Regions from separate parts of the Homo sapiens genome. Here region 1 is linked to region 2. The links are contacts of gene promoters, found by promoter capture Hi-C in human tissues and cell types (Jung and others, 2019). All regions are on one chromosome and are shown on one strand. The core of a region is centred on a gene start or on the middle of the fragment in contact, and the rest is flanking DNA. Distances in the headings are between cores, read along the strand shown.

Region 1 (2,872 bases), core at 348-2,847, 62 kb after region 2:
TTTGTACATTGTTTACTGTAAGTTAATTTGTACTTTTTTTTTTTTTTTTTGAGACTGAGTCTCGTTCTGTCACCCAGGCTGGAGTGCAGTGGTGCGATCTGGGCTCACTGCAACCTCCACCTCCTGGGTTCACGCCATTCTCCTGCCTCAGCCTCCCGAGTAGCTGGGACTACAGGCACCCGCCACCACGCCTGGCTAATTTTTTGTATTTTTAGTAGAGACGGGGTTTCACCGTGTTAGCCAGGATGGTCTTGATGTACATTTTTTAAACAACTTTTCAGAGACTGATATGGTTTGGCTCTGTGTCCCCACCCAAATCTCACCTTGAACAGAGATCTAGCCCTTTATCAGAGACTTAAATTGCAAATATCTTTTCCTAGTTTGTTAATTTATCTTGTGATCTTGCATCTGAATTTTTTTTAGATGGAATCTCACTCTGTCACCCAGGCAGGAGTGCGGTGGCACGATCTTGGCTCACTGCAATCTCCACCTCCTGGGTTTAAGCCATTCTTCTGTCTCAGACTGCTGAGTAGCCGGGATTACAGGTGTGTGCCACCACACCCGGCTAATTTTTGTATTTTGAGTAGAGATGGGGTTTCACCGTGTTGGCCAGGCTGGTCTTGAACTCCTGACCTCAGGTGATCCACCCTCCTCGGCCTCCCAAAGTGCTGCAATTACAGGCGTGAGCCACTGCACCCAGCCTTGCATCTGAATTTTTTGTCATACAGTATTATTTAAATTTTATGTGGTCAAATTTATACCTGTTTTTGAGACAGAGTCTTGCTCCATTACCTAGACTGGAGTGCAGTGGGGTAAATCATAGCTCACTGCAACTTCAAACTCCTCGGCTCAAGCAATCCTCTTGTGTCAGCCTCCTGAGTAGCTGGGACTATGGGTGCATGCCACCACTCCTGGCTAATTTTATAATTTTTAGTAGAGATAAGGTCTTGCCATGTTGCCCAGGCTGGTCTCCAGCTTCTGGGCTCAGTGGATTCTCCTGCCTTGGTCTCCAAAAGTGTTCGGATTACAGGTGTAAGCCACCATGCTCAGCCAAAATTTGTACATCTTTTAGACATTGGTTTTGGATTTTTAATGATGGTTTAAAAAGTTTTCTTAATTCTCAAGTCATAAAGAAATTAACACATGCCTTCTAGTACTTATAGCTACATTATTTACATTTAGATTTCATCCATTTGGAATTTATTCCTGTGTATTTTTTCCCACATAGCTCAATATTATTTATGAAATAATTCAAAACTTCCCCATGACTTGAGATAATACCTTCACTATTTATTAAACTTCCATAACCATATATGTCTGTTTCCAGTTGTGCTATTCAAATGCGAACTTTGGCCTGTTTTTCTATCACATATCAATACCATGAAGCTTTGAATATAGAAGTTTTATAATGTTTTAAATAACTGATGGGATTAGCCTCCCACATTGCGCTTTTTCCAAAATTTTCTTTGATAGTCTTGTTTATTAATTTTACTTATTTATTCATTTATTTTTTGAGACAGAGTCTCGTTCTGTCGTCTAGGATGGAGTGCAGTGGCATGATCCTGGCTCACTGCAGGCTCTGCCTCCCAGGCTCAAGCGATTCTCCTGCCTCAGCCTCCCAAGTGTCTGGGGTTATAGGCGTGCACCACCACGCCCAGCTAATTTTTGTATTTTCAGTAGGGACAAGGTTTAGCCATGTTGGCCAGGCTGATCTTGAACTCCTGACTTCAAGTGATCCACCTGCCTTGGCCTCCCAAAGTGCTGGGATTATAAACATGAGCCACCTTGCCTAGCCTATTAATTTTTTTTAAAATACAAACCCTATAATCTAGCTCCAGAGGGCAAAATCAGCGTTTTTAATGGAATTGCATCAAATTTATATAGTAAGGGGGAAATTACATCTTAAGGAATTAAGTCCTCCTATCAAGAACGTATTATGTTTTTCCAATTGTTTAAGTCAACTTTGTGTCTTTTATTAGTGTGGCCTATAATGGCATTTCAGTCAATAATGAGCCACGTACATGACCAAACTACCTGGCTAAGGAGTGTGGACCAGGAATACGGTCAGAAATCTTTTAAATCAAGTTTTTAGGAGGCTGCTCCAATGATCAACAACATCAGATGCCTGTGGGTGGTAAGGAGAGAAAGGGCCATCAAGTAGCTATTTGCTGGTGGTTCACAGAGCTGAAAATATGGCAAAGATTATCTTCAAGGGCCACAATGATGTGGCCAGAGTTGGTTAATGGAACTAGAACAATAACACCACCACCTGAAAAGGTGTCAAGAGTAGCAGGGCACCACCATAGTCCCATGAAGGGCCCAAAGGTCAGGCTGTGGGCGGCAGCAGGGAAAGCATCCCTGCCACGAGGCCACACCATTGTGAGACAAGTAGGTCAACTTGTGGCAGGAGCTCCAGTGGGAGCCCCCGCATCATAAACATGGAGTCCTGCACGTTGTGCCATCCACAGTGGTGGGTGCGTTCCCACATCCAGCACAGCGATGGGTCCAGAGAGCAACGTGGCCATCTGCTTAGTGCAGGCTCCACCGGCAGCTTGGCTCTAATCGGTCTCATCAGAGAAGGGGCCTTGATCATTTCCATCTATGTGAGTGACCCAGATGTTTCTCTCAGCAGTCACGATTTGTTTCCACAGTTTGTGACCTGCAAACGGGATGCTGTTCATCTGGAATCTGTAGTTTTCCAAGTGGCTGACCAAATGCTTAGCCGTTGACAACAGCCCAAGAATGACTAAAAATAGGGCAAGTTGCATCAAGGGCAGTCTTGGCCAGACCTGCAAGAACAGCCATGCATTCTGCCTTCTGAGCAGACAGCTCACATCTGTTTTTGGATCTGTGTAGTCACAGCAGCTCAGGG
Region 2 (2,884 bases), core at 203-2,702:
TTAGTGTATAATGAGCAGTGAGGGCACTAGAGGTCACTTTGGTCACCATCCTGGTTTTAGCTGGCTTGGGCCTGTTTCTTTAGGGCAGTTTTGGCCGTTTTTTTAGGGCATCCTGTTCTGACCAGATCCTGTTTTGCTCAGCAGGTGGTGATCAGTGCTTGGAAAGTCCTGCTGATCTCCTACCTCAACTATAACTGTGCAAATACTTTTCAGGGGGATAATGGAAATGTTCTTAAATTATAGTGATGGTTGCAAATGGTTTTAAAATTACTGAAAATGATTGAATGGTACACTTCAAATGAGTGAATTTTATGGCATGTAAAGAAATGTTTTTTAAAAACACAGCTAAAAAATTAGGAGACAAAGAAGTATTAAGACTTTGTAATTTGGGGAAACACTTGTGATAAATGACAGCGACTATGTGGTTTTGTGGAATGTATTTCCTTGTATGTACCGTGACAGAAAAGAGGGCAGGTGCCAACTGCACTGGGCTTGGGGAAGATTCATTCATTTAAGAAATTTTTTTTTTTCTGAGCATTATTCATACACAAGAGGTTCACGGTTAAAACAAAAATTTACAAAAAGCAACCCTTTCTTCACCTGGGAGCTTATAGCGCAGTGAGGAGACACAGATACATCCATAGCTCGTGAGGTGACCGGGGAAGGACAGGAAGAGCGGGGAGGTGATCAGGGGAGGCCTCGCTGTGAAAACCACGCGCCCTGTCGACCCCGAGGAGACGCGGCCCACGCTGGGAGGGAGCAGCCAGGACAAAAGCCGGTCGTCGTGGGGTCCCGCCTGGTGAGTGGGGGTGAGGACAGCGAAGTGTGGGCTGCCCTGGGCTTCCAGGGAAAGGAGCCAGATGGAGAGGGGAGATGTGGGGGACCGATCGCGTGCAACAGCCTAGGCCACTGCCGGCCGCTGGCTGTGGCAATGAGCGCGGAGCCTTTGGAAGATCCAGGGGACAGGCTTCCACAGCATCCACGTGGCTGCGGCGTCGCCGACAAGGCCCAGGCGGGGGCAAGATGGTACGAAGCGACCATTTAAGTGATTGTTACAATCATCCCCGCAAAGATAACAGGGGGCTTGACCCCATGTAGAAGTGTGCGAAGCGGCTGGTTTCTGTCAGCGTTTGACCTTAACGGGAGTAACGAATCGACTATGGGTGTGAGGAAGACTGGTCAGAGCTGATCGCGCCTCGGAATGGAGTGGTGGCTGGGATGCGGAAAGGCCCCGAGTGGAGCAATCCTGGGTGAGGCGGAAACGGGGGCTGACTTTCCAGCCGTCCGCGTGCTACTGAGGCGGCGGCCACCCTGGCACCTTCCCCTAGCTCCGCTAGTCCGCGCGTACAGCCCTGGGATGTGGCGGGCTGGGAGACCCACGCTCCCGGCGTGCTCTGCGGCCCGGCCCGCGCACCCGGGGGGCGTGGCCTGCGCGCGCGTGCGTCGTAGCCGAACGCTGTGGCGGGGCAGGCGAGGCGGTCGCTTCGAGCGCGCTAGTCAGCTCCCTGAAGGGAGTGACGGCGGTTGGGTGCCCGCGGCCACTTTTGCCTTCCCGGGTAAGTGCGGCGGTGGCGGTTGGCGCCGCCGGCTGACGGGCGGCTTCCTGGGAGACGGGGAGAGCACCCGGCAGGCCCGCCTGAGACGTTTGAGGCTCGCGGGCGTCACTCCTCAGGGGCGTCTGGTCCGAGCCGGGAGGCGTTCCGCTAAGTTCGGTGCCCGCGGGCACCAGCCGGTGGGGGCTTCGTCCGCTTTGCCGGGTAGGAGGGCGGAATGTGGGGTTGGTACGGGCGGGGAGAGCCGGACGGGGCCAACCTGGACCACGTCAGCCAGTCCCGGGTGACTGGCTCGAAGTAGCCTCGGAGTTGAGAGGGGTCGACCGGGGCAGCCCGCGGCGCAGCCCCGGCAGCGCGCATTTGCGGAGAGAACGGATCCCGTGCCCCGAGCGCCGCCGAGCCCCGCACGCCCGTGAGACCCGCTTTGAATTTTCTCTCCATGTTTGCTGGGGTTGTTGACCCGACCCCCCGTAAGACTCGGACTCAACGTTTTTGTTTGCCCCACGACAGCCAGCTTAATGCTGTGGACGTAACAGGGCACGAACGTTTGTAACTGAAAGTTGAAGGGGCTGTGGCGTCTCCGTCCCGTGGCGTGGGAGGTGATCGCCCAGCCCTTGTGAGTAGTTGTCGTCCTAGAACTCCGCCGACCGCCTAGCCGGTGGAGCCGGCGCTCCGGACGCCACTAGAGCTGGCGTTTCGTGGGCGCAGCACCTCTAGCCGGTCATCTTCACCATCGCCATTGAGGGCACTGAGGCCGGGCCAGGCTTCAAACCCTGCCCTCTCTGAACCTGAAGCCAGAGATGAAAACCCAGACGACAGTGGCCTGGCACGGTGGCTCACGCCTGACCCCAGCACCATGGGAGGCCGAGGCGGGTGGATCACCTGAGGTCAGGAGTTCAAAACCAGCCTGGCCAACATGGTGAAACCCCGTCTCTACTAAAATTAGCTGGGCGCGGTGGCGGACGCCTGTAATCTCAGCTACTCGGGAGGCTGAGGCTGGAGAATCTCTTGAACCCGGGAGGCAGAGGCTGCAGTGAGCCGAGATCGCGCCGCTGCACTCCTGCCTGGGGGACAGAGCAAGACTCTGTCTCAAAAAAACAAACCCAGATGACCTAGAGCAGGTTGCTTGGGGATTGCATTATGGGGCATTTTCCGTGTTTCTGAAGAAAACCAGCATGTGTGCAGCTGCCGTGAAGAACACACTGTGCATCGTGAAGTCTGAAAAGAAGTAAAGCAGACCGGGAGAGGTGGCAAACGCCTTGGGATCCCAACGGTTTGGGAGGCCAAGGCAGGGGGTATCGCTTGAGCCCGGGAGTTCAAGACCAGCCTGC

Evidence for each region. Contacts are between HindIII fragments. The study calls those that stand out against the background at their distance.
Region 1: a contact is called between a fragment that was not itself captured here and the fragment with the promoter of TEX30 in region 2, in 1 of the 25 tissues and cell types used here (IMR-90 fibroblasts).

Annotation. Positions count from the first base shown.
Region 1 is chr13:102,710,251-102,713,122 of GRCh38, reverse strand. No RefSeq gene overlaps it. Among named protein-coding and RNA genes, the nearest start is that of METTL21C, 17 kb to the right of the region's middle. The HindIII fragment of the contact is 5,904 bases long and covers 1-2,872 here.
Region 2 is chr13:102,772,354-102,775,237 of GRCh38, reverse strand. TEX30 (testis expressed 30) reads left to right here and starts at 1,452. Exons shown (of 6, transcript NM_138779.5): 1 at 1,452-1,556. RefSeq lists enhancers at 342-1,019, 1,020-1,697 and a silencer at 1,280-1,619. The HindIII fragment of the contact is 8,936 bases long and covers 1-2,884 here.